3 separate regions of the Homo sapiens genome follow, and all the other regions are linked to region 3. The links are contacts of gene promoters, found by promoter capture Hi-C in blood cells and fetal thymus (Javierre and others, 2016). All regions are on one chromosome and are shown on one strand. The core of a region is centred on a gene start or on the middle of the fragment in contact, and the rest is flanking DNA. Distances in the headings are between cores, read along the strand shown. Region 1 has its middle 16 kb from the start of FOXJ3. Region 2 holds the start of GUCA2A (guanylate cyclase activator 2A). Region 3 holds the start of PPIH (peptidylprolyl isomerase H).

Region 1 (3,669 bases), core at 700-3,199, 310 kb after region 3:
GGGAAATGAAGGAATGTCAGCAGCCCCTGGGGCTCCCCAGGGGGCAGGTGTATTATTTTGGTCCTTTAGAACAACCAATTTTCCATTTATTGACTAATTCATTCCTTCCCTCTACATTTGTAATACCACCTTTGAACATGTCAAGTCTGTGTATATTCATGGACTTCTTTCTAAGGTCTCTTTTCCATTCCATTCAACAATTTATCCCTAAGCTAATGTCATACCATCTTAAATCTTATAACTTTAAAATAAGGCTGGGCGCGGTGGCTCATGCCTGTAATCCCAGCACTTTGGGAGGCTGAGGAGGGCGGATCACCTGAGGTCAGGAATTCGAGACCAGCCTGGCCAACATGGCAAAACCCTGTCTCTACTAAAAACACAAAAATTAGACGGGCATGGTGGCGCATGCCTGTAATCTCAGCTACTCGGGAGGCTAAAGCACAAGAATCACTTGAACCCAGGAAGTGGAGGTTGCAGTGAGCCAAGATTGCAACACTGTACTCCAGCCTGGGTGACAGAGCAAGACTCAGTCTCAAAATATAAATAAATAAAATAAAATAAGTTGATATGTGGTGGCACAGTCTTTCTATGTTGTTCCGCATCTTCAAAATTATCTTGTCCTTTTCTACTTCCAAATGAATCCTAAGATCAGACTGTTTAGTTCCACAAAAAGTCATAGCTGGATTTAATTTAGAATTGTATTGAATTTATGGACAAATTAAGGAAGAATTTATATCTTTATGATATTGAACTCATGAACCTGGTGGATATCTTCATTTATTCAGATCTGTGTATGTATTTGTATTTGTTCTTCAATTTTGGAATTTTCTTCACAATGATCTTACATAATGTTTGTCAGGTTGATTTCTAATAATCTTTTTATTTGTATCAGTATTGTGGATGAGATCTTCATTTCTAATACAGGTTTTAATTATTTATTGATATTGAAAGTCTATTGAGCCAGGCATAGTGGCATATAGCTGTAGTCTGAGCTCCTCTGGAGGCTGACGCAGGAGGATCACTTCAGCTCAGGAGTTTGAGGCTGTAGTACACAGTGATCACACCTGTGAGTAGCCACTGCACTCCAGCCTGGGCAATGTAGTGAGACCCCTGTCTCTAAAACAAATAAAGAAAGAGAAAAGAAAAAAGAAAGGCTATTGATTTCTTTATTGGTCTTGAATATGGCAAACTTGCTAAACTCCCTTACTAGCTTTAATAGATTCTATTCTAGCTCAGGTGTGGTGGCTCAAGCCTGTAATCCCAGCACACTGGGAGGCTGAGGTGGGCGGATCACCTGAGGTGAGGAGTTCAAGACCAGCCTGACCAACATGGTGAAACCCTGTCTCTACTAAAAATACAAAAATTAGCCGGGCATGGTGGCGCATGCCTGTAATCCCAGCTACTCGGGAGGCTGAGGCAGGAGAATCACTTGAAACCCAGGAGGCGGAGGTTACAGTGAGCCGAGATCGCGCCACTGCACTCCAGGCTGGGTGACAGAGCAAGACTCCATCTCAAAAAAAAAAAAAAAAAGATTCTATTTTATAGATTATTTTGGGGCTTTGTATGTAATCAATCATATTATCTCTATATAAGGACCATAGCTAGACTTTTAATTCCAGTTCTAAAGATTTTTTAAAACCATGAATGAGTGTTAAATGTTGATGCCTTTTCTGTATTTATTGAAAAGGTCATAGTTTTTCCTCTCTTAATCTGTTAGAGTGGTATACTACATCAATAGATTTTAGGATGCTGCACTTCCTTGCATTTCTAGGATAATCAACACAGTCTTTACAGAAACAACTCTCATCCTTTTGACATTTATAGTACATTGGTCTATATAACTATATTAAATAAATTAGTTAGAATATCAACTACACATGATGTCAATAGGTTATTAAATAAAATACAAATGACTCCAGATGAGCATGAAACTCAAGTGCACAACAGCCCATTATCTATAAGGCTTCACACTGATGGTTCTTTTAAGATAGTAGAAATAGTATCAGTTAAGTGGAAGTCAACTAGAAAGTGTCCACTGTTTAGGGAAATTAGTGATTGTGGCAACATACCCACTATATGCCAACATGATTTGTTTCTATTCAACTAAATTCAAGAAATAGTTATGGAGAAACTACTATATATTAAGTACCATGTTAGGCATCATGGCTAAACACAAAGGTGAATCAAGCAGTTTCTATTCACAAAATATTTCCCAAACTAGTAGACAGGTTAAGTAAGATCAAGTGCTTAAATATCTCATCAAAATACAAAGCAGAGTAAGACAGATGTCCGAGGAAATACAAAGGTTATCACATATCATGGAGGGAAAGTGTAACTTGGGGAGAGGAGTAATCAGGAATGGAGTTTTGGAGAAGGTAGATTTTGCAGTGAACTAAGTGGGAGGTTAGACCATTGGTGTCTATCGCAGCCAGCCCCTTTAACTGATCTCTATTAGTCTCAGCAATCCACTTTAAAAGCAATGAGAGCTATCCCATCTGATGTGTTCTGATGATCACTTCTTTTCTTGCTGGACTTGCGCACAGATTCTCCCTTTCTGTCCAGCCCTTTCATGTGAGATGTCCATCCCCTAATCCTTGGAACCTGTGAATATATTAATTTACATGGAAAGGGAGAATTAAGATTGAAGATGAAGTTTAAGGTTGCTAATCAGCTGATCTTGAGATGGAGAGATTATCCTGTATTGTCTGTATTGGCCCAATGCAATCACAATGGTCCTTAGAAATAAAAGAGGGAGGCAGGAGAGTGAGTGTCAGAGTGATGTGACATGAGAGAGACTCGACCATTGCTGGCTTTGAAGATGGAAGTGGGCTATGAGCCAAAGAATGCTGGCAGCTCCTAGAAGTTGAATAAATCAAGGAAATAGATTGTCTCCTAGAACCTCCAGAAGAATGCAGCTTTTGCAAAACCTTGCTTTTAGCCCAGTGGAACCTATTTCAGGCTGCTGACCTCCAGAGCTGTAAAATAATACATTTATGTTATTTTAAGCCATTAAGTTTGTGGTAAGTTGTTACAACAGCAATAAGAACTAACACAAAAGATTAATAAAGCCAACCAGGATAAAAACAGGTTTGGAAGGAAAGGTCATAGCTTTGCTCATGTTGAGCTGAAGAGCTAGTGCCTGTCTGTGAAAGGCCAGCAGGACAGTGGAAATGTGGGTTTGAATATCAGAAAACAGGCTGGGATTTGGAACCTTAAAATCATTTCATAAAGGGGATATTTGACACCTAGAGCATGGGTGAGATGTTTTTAGGAAAAACATTTAGATCAATGCTGTCAAATGGAAATATAACACAAGCTGTGAATGCAAGCTACACATGCAATTTAAAATTTTCAGCAACCATATTAAAAATCTAAAAAAAGAAACAAGTGAAATTAAATTTTAATTATGTATTTTATTGTACTAAACATATCCAAATTGTTTTTTCAACATGTAATATAAAATTATTAGATATTTTACATTTTTACACAAAATCTTTACAATCTGATATGCATTTTACACTTACAGCACATCTCAGTTCAGCATGTCTATAAATAATTTCATGGGCTCAATAGCTATCATGTGGCTAGTGGCTATGGTACTGGGCAGTGCAGTTTAGAGAAAGAGCAGATACAAAGGGTGGAGCTTTGAGAGACACCTGCATTTAGGAG
Region 2 (3,359 bases), core at 403-2,902, 490 kb after region 3:
ATGCACACCTCCTTGCACAGACACAGATACCTTGGTGTACACGGACACACATATACCCCTCAGCATACACACACATACACCTCAGCATATATACACATACACTCCTCAGTGTACACACATGCCTCAGCACACACACACCTTCAGCACAAGCACACATACAAACACACCTTGGCTACACACACCCATCAGGGTATATACAGACACCTTGGCATACACAGACATACACATCTCCGCAGACACACCCCCCCTTAACACACACACACACACACACACACACACACTCACCAGAAAGGGGTGGGAAATCCAGTGCAGCTGTGAGGACTGCCCTGGGAGCTGGGCCAGGAGCTACCTGCCCCTCCCTGAGGGCCTTGTCCCTGCAGTTCCCTCCTGGTCAGGCCCTGCTCTCTCCAATTCCCTCTTCAGTGTTGACTCTCCCCACCCAGGAATTCCTGCCCAACCTCCCGCCCTAGGGCTGTCCTGGCATCGGGCCAGGTTGGCTGAGTAGAAAGATGACAATCCCAGGGCTACCCTTTCTCCTGTGTCCTGGGGATTCCTGCTCACAACAGCACACAGTGAATGCACGCTGCCCTGAGGGCGCAGTCTGAATGGGGTCAGAGTCTATAGGGGCGCGGGCACACCCAAGCAATTCCCCAGTGAGATCCGCGGAAAGGGGACTGTATCTGCAGGGGCAAGGGGGGCGGGCGGATTGGGGAGGAGCTCATTCGAGGACACCCTGAGGCTGCAGGGCAGGCAGGACAGGATGGGGACCAGCACAGGATGGGGACAGCCTGTGACTCAGACAGGCAGGAGGTCACCAGAGGGGCCAGGGAGGACCAGGAGCTGCTGTGGCTGCTAATAATATGGGAATGGACCTCTGCTGAGCACCTTCTGTGTGCCAGGCATTGAGCTAAATGTTTTTAAAACCTCACTTGATTCTCCAAACAGTAATGCCTACCACACACCTACCCCATGAGGTAGGTATTATTTTTGGTTCCCACAGGGGACACAAGGGACAACGAGACTCAGAGAGGGGAAAGCATTGGCCCAAGTTCACACGCCTCACAACTGGGCAGTAGGTGGAACGGAACCCAGGCTGTGCGGAGGGCTTCCTTGAGGTCGCGGCAATCAAACCCAGACCCTGACTTGCCCTGCAGCCTCCCCCGTGGAATTTCTCACATTTCCCTGAATATTCCAGGCCCGTCTCACCTCCTGGCTGTCCCTTTGGCATGAAATGGCCTTCTGTCCTCAGTCCCTTCTCTGGGAAAACTTCCACCCATTCTCCAGAGCTCAGCCCCCAGTGCAGCCCCGTCACCTCATCCTAGGATCACCCCACCCTAATCGCCCTGCGTTTCACTGTCGGGCTGGGCCCCCCTCCTCAAGGGCAGGGTCTGCCGGCCCCACACAGCAGCACAGGGCAGTCGTGAGTGAATGTGCCTTGTTGGTGAATGAATGCAGGACCCAGCCCGGCTGTGGGTCAAAGTAGGTGCTCAGGGAGGGGCCGGGGCCCCCCCTGCCTGGCTCTTATCTCCTAGGGCTGTCTCGAGCCTTATCTGATAAGGCCTGACAGGTGAGCAGATGAGACTGACAGAGGCTTCCAGGTTACTCAGTAACCTGCCCTCTTTAAAAGTCCCGCCGCTTCCCCCTGGCATCCAGAACAGCCACCCCTCTCTCGGGCACTGCTGCCATGAATGCCTTCCTGCTCTCCGCACTGTGCCTCCTTGGGGCCTGGGCCGCCTTGGCAGGAGGGGTCACCGTGCAGGTGAGTCCTGTGTCCCTACCCCGGCCCAGCTGGCTCCCTGCCCCTAGTGCCCAGGTCTGGTCCCCTGAGAGAGTACCTCCTCTTTGGGGCTGGATTGAGGGTGTGTGTCCCAGGCTTGGCCTTCTTCGAGGAGCTCCTGCTCAGTCCAGCCACACACACACCTTTCCCTTCAACTTTGGAGGAGAAAGAAACCCAGTGGAGGGAAGAGGAATAACCATATGGGGAAGGCGGGGAGTTGGCCAATTTACTGAGTGTCCTATGTGCCGGCTCCTTCCCCAGCCCCTCACTGTGGCTCCACTATCAACCTGGAAGAAAGGGATCATTAGTCCCATTTTACAGAGGGGAAAACTGAGCCTCACAAAGGTTCTGTAACAGGCCATGGGCACATGGCTGTGGGAAGTGCAGGAGCTGGATTTAAATCCAGACCTTACTCCTCAGTGGGTCCCAGGAACCACATGGACACCCTGGAGGTCCTGACAGATGGGTATGCCTACCAGTGCCAATGCTGGCGACAGGCCAAGCTGGCACCTAGCGGGGGCCCTGATCTCTATCAAAGCCAGATTCCGGGAGGCCTTTTATTGCTTCTCAAACCAAAACCAGGCTGCAGGCTGGAGCTGGGGGCCCAGTAATCAGCCGCACCGCTCTCAGGCAGGGGAAAGACAGCCTGGGCTTGGCCACGTGGAACTACGATGCCTGGGTGCTGGTCCTTTGCCTCTCCCTAAAAATCAGCACACTGGCTCCTACTCATTAGGCACCTATGGTGTTCCTGGAGCTTCACACCCATTTTCTCCATTCCCCATACAACATGCAGAATTTGCGGGTTCCAGAGTGTCCAGCATCACGGAGCCAAGCCAGGACGTGGGGCCTGAACTCTGCCCCTCACAGTGCCCCACTGTGGATCGCCTGGCTCCCATATGCCACGAACACTGCCTGTGAGCACCACTGGGCTGGACCGGGGCCAGCACGGGGGGCACAGCCAGGAAGCAGGCTGCAGCCTGGCCTCATGCTCTGGGCTTCTCTCTTCCAGGATGGAAATTTCTCCTTTTCTCTGGAGTCAGTGAAGAAGCTCAAAGACCTCCAGGAGCCCCAGGAGCCCAGGGTTGGGAAACTCAGGAACTTTGCACCCATCCCTGGTGAACCTGTGGTTCCCATCCTCTGTAGCAACCCGAACTTTCCAGAAGAACTCAAGCCTCTCTGCAAGGAGCCCAATGCCCAGGAGATACTTCAGAGGCTGGGTGAGCAGCCTCCTTCCTCTCTGATTGGTGGGGTTCGGGAATACTGTGGTGGCACTTGAGGAAGAGATGTGCTCTGATTGGTGGGATTTGGAGGAAGGGCTCAGCTCTGACTGGTGGAACTAGGGAGCTTGGCTCTGATTGGTGGGTCTGTTCCATGCCCACTTCAATTCCAAGTTGTAACTGCTGAGGTTTGGGAACTAAGACCATTCATCTGGTCTTAGTTTCCTCTCTTTCTGGTGGAATCTCTGCTTTGATTGGTTGGTTTGAGTGGTCTGTGTGCCCTGGTTTGGGGCGAAAAGCCCAGTAGGTCAGAGTACGGGCCTGCTGAGATTCTCCTGGGGCTGGGTGGTGACGTACAAGCTCTG
Region 3 (3,410 bases), core at 800-3,299:
GGCGACAGAGTGGGACTCTGTCTCAAAAAAACAAAACAAAACAAAAAAAACCTGAAGATTATTCTTTTCCTGAATGATTAAGCTGAAAGGATAATTAACCATAAAAAAGGATTTTCGTTATAAATTAGGGCATGTTAGAGTTGATCAAGTGCATGATCTGGTACCTGAACAGTAATAAGAAGAAGGGGCTGAAAGCTTACTTGCCAAAGCAAAAGGCAGAGCAAGGGTTTGATGTAAATTTGGGGGAAAGAACTACAGAGAATTTATGTGAAATGTACTGCTAAACATGTAAGGGCTTAACAACTGTTAGCTATTACCCCTAGGGAGGGTCCTTAACCTTTCTTATCCTCAGTTTCCTCCTCTGTAGAATGCAGATCACCCATACCACTTCACAGGAGTCTTACTGGGGATTAGAGACCCAAAGCTCTAAAGCTGTGATATAATTATGTGCTAACATTGTTACTAACCACAGTGAGGCCATGAGAAAGATTCTATATTGAAATGAGACTAAGTGTTGACATACTCCACTCCCCAGGAAATATGATTATCCTTGGACAATCATATATGATCATTTTAGGAATTAGTTATAAATATCAACCAGCAGGATATATTATATGCACTTTAGGATTACAAGTGTACTTTTTAAAAAATCTGCATTCGCACAAACAAGTGCATGAAAAAGACAAGATATTGTAAAGATGAGTAGTTTCTGTTTTAAAGACCTAAGAAGTGGGGGAGTGTAAGTAGAGTTAGAACATTTAATAAATCTTCAGTTGTTGAGTCCACAAAAACATTTCTTCTCAAGAAATGTAAGAATTACCCTCTGGTTTTATTTTCCTCTAAAGAGCCTAATCCCCCAGGAAATATTTCTGAAAGACTCCAGGATGGCTTGCCAAGAGCCTTACCTGTGGAAGGTGCTTCCTTTGTATCCTATTGGAACCCCATCTTTCCTATAACCGAAAAGAAAGAGACTTGGAGTGACAGCAGGTAGCACAAGGCCTTTCCAGTTTACCATGCACTGGAGCCAAAAGGACTCTCCTAAAGATGGTTGACAGACATAAAGAAGGCAAATAAACTAGGGACAGACCCTTGGGGCATTACCTTCTATCACTGTCACCAGCAATCATTCAAGGCCAGCAGGTGGTTCACCGATACCCTCACTGCAGCCCCAGAACACCCCTCTGGAGCAGGCAAAGAAGTCAAACACATCTGAAACTGACCTGAATTCTCCGGTGCAGAACTGCCTGAAAGGGACAAAAAATGAATGATTCAATCACTATGATGTCACAGTCGTGAGCGCCTCTAAATACGGGAAAGAATAAACACTGGAGCCAGCAAGTCCACCAATCGGCCAGCCAGACGTCCAGACACGCAGTCACACAGACTAACAACGTAAATTAACACGGGAACAATCCAAACGGCAACCAGACAGAGCAATGCATGGAGGAATCAGGTCTCAAGAGCAGTGAGCGGACGGACAGAGGTAGACAGGCTATTTCAGGCGGCTGACTGGAGCCCGACTTCTGCCTCAGCTAATCCAGCGGAGCTGGAGCACGTCCTTACCTAAAGTTCTCGGCCGTCTTAGGCACAACGTCTGCAAAGAGCTCGATCTTCATGCGGCCAACTTCCTGCAATCAGCGGGAGAGTGTCAGAAGGCCCAGTCCAAGACCATGAGGGCTTCACGGAGCAGGGGGCATGATGGGCTGACCCACCACCCTGCCGCTCGGTATCTCCCACCTCCGCCTCCCTAGTCTAACCGCCCAGTTCCTCCAGAAGCGGGGCGCTAGGATTGGGGAGACTCCTCCTCCTCCTTTCCCCCCGCCCGGCAGGTCGGTAGGTTCGGGTGCAATTTCACTTTCTGGCTGGCTTCCCGAGTCCGCTCTCTCTGGGTGAGTTCTGCCTGCCTAGCCCCGAGCAGTTTCCCTTCGGCGCAGGTGTGGGCAGCCTCCTGGATCTCACCTGACCGCCAATACTGACATCAAAGAACACCACGGGGTTAACAGGACTTGAATTTGCCACCGCCATGGCTCCGACCCGGAAGCAGAAGTCGGGAGCGTGGGATTCCGGCGAACCTAAAGCCCGGTCCGCGGATTTCGTCCGGGGAGCAGGCGCGGTAGACGTGGAGCGAGACCAGGCTCCGCCCCCGGAAGCTGTCGCCCCGTGCGGTGTGTGCTGAGACTGCTAGGGTCTAGCTGAGAGACTCTGCCTGGCACTGGGGACGCGGGAGTGAGGAGGAGGAAAGCCTTGACATCTTTTTGGTTAAGGTCAATGGTCACCCCACTCACGTGGCTGTACTAAGGGCAGTACAAGTTGATCTTGCTCTAGCTAGGACTTTTGGACTAGGCAGTCGCCAGGGTCCTCCTTATCGGCTCTTGCAGCCAAGCCCTCTGCACCGCCACACGTGCTGTCTGTCTTCTGCCCGCTAGTGTGAACACCGTGAAGGCAGGAACTCTGGTTTGTTCATCCTCAGCGTTTAGAACAGCTTGGCACGTACAGGCTTGCTAAGTAAATATCCCTTCCTCTAAGTCAGGACAATAGATAATGTTTGTTCTGCCACAAAAGCTACCAGTTTTGTCATTTCCAATTCATTTCCCATAAAGCAACTAGAGTTTTTTATTTTTTATTTTTAAAATAACTCTTGTGCTTCCTATTTATTTTAAAAATAACTCCTGGCTTCCCATATTTAGAATAAAATCCAATTCCGTGCATACGAAGCCCTACAGTGCATTTATCTGGCTATCACGTACCTGACCTCATCTTGTACCACTTGCCCTTAGTTACTGTGCTCTGACCTGTCTGTTCCTCCAGGTCACTGAGATCCCTCCTCTCTTTAGGGCTTTGTAATAGCTGTTACTTCTGTCTGAAATATTCCTTCCAGAACTTAATGTGGGTTGGCGGGGGATTGTGGGGGTTGGTTGGGGTATGCGTGTGGGAAGTAATGCTCCTTGTAGTTCAGGGCTCACCCCAGATGTTACCTCCTGAGAGGCAACATTAGACCTAATCTAAAGTAGCCCTTGGTCATTCAGATCACTGGTTTGTTTTCTTCATGCCACCCCCACTTCCACATTATCTTCGTATGGTATGTGTCTACACCTCATTTCCTGCCACACACACATAATCTTCCTCCCTGATAGCATATAAACTCCATGAAAGTAGAGACTCTCCTGGTCCTATTCGCAGCTGTAGCTGCAATGTCGCCTACTGAATAGCATATAGTAGGTATTCAATAAATAATAGATGCAATGAATTTAGTGAAAGAAGGGGACCTTGGGCAAGGCTCATTCAATATAACAGCATGCATTTAATAAAATAGTTATTATTTCCTAGTTCCTATGATCATCTTTCTAGCTCTGTTGTCTGAGAAAGCAAGGATTACATATAAAAATACAGTGTGTCTCAATGTAAAGGGT

The links. The method cuts DNA at HindIII sites, captures the fragments that hold promoters and counts their contacts. A CHiCAGO score of 5 or more calls a contact.
Region 1: a fragment that was not itself captured here is called in contact with the fragment with the promoter of PPIH in region 3 in 1 of 17 cell types (megakaryocytes); the score reaches 7.1 in megakaryocytes.
Region 2: the fragment with the promoter of GUCA2A here is called in contact with the fragment with the promoter of PPIH in region 3 in 2 of 17 cell types (endothelial precursors and erythroblasts); the score reaches 6.1 in endothelial precursors.

What each region holds. Positions count from the first base shown.
Region 1 is chr1:42,349,455-42,353,123 of GRCh38, reverse strand. No RefSeq gene overlaps it. Among named protein-coding and RNA genes, the nearest start is that of FOXJ3, 16 kb to the right of the region's middle. The HindIII fragment of the contact is 5,212 bases long and covers 1-3,669 here.
Region 2 is chr1:42,163,038-42,166,396 of GRCh38, reverse strand. GUCA2A (guanylate cyclase activator 2A) reads left to right here and starts at 1,652. Exons shown (of 3, transcript NM_033553.3): 1 at 1,652-1,759; 2 at 2,787-2,994. The coding sequence starts at 1,685. RefSeq lists an enhancer at 828-1,792. The HindIII fragment of the contact is 7,781 bases long and covers 1-3,359 here.
Region 3 is chr1:42,657,062-42,660,471 of GRCh38, reverse strand. It overlaps PPIH (peptidylprolyl isomerase H), which reads right to left and starts at 2,049. Exons shown (of 10, transcript NM_006347.4): 1 at 1,960-2,049; 2 at 1,564-1,628; 3 at 1,221-1,244; 4 at 906-950. The coding sequence starts at 2,025. It overlaps CCDC30 (coiled-coil domain containing 30), which reads right to left. Exons shown (of 21, transcript NM_001395517.1): 21 at 3,282-3,410. All of the region lies in intron 1 of LOC124904162 (a long non-coding RNA gene), which reads left to right. The HindIII fragment of the contact is 5,565 bases long and covers 198-3,410 here.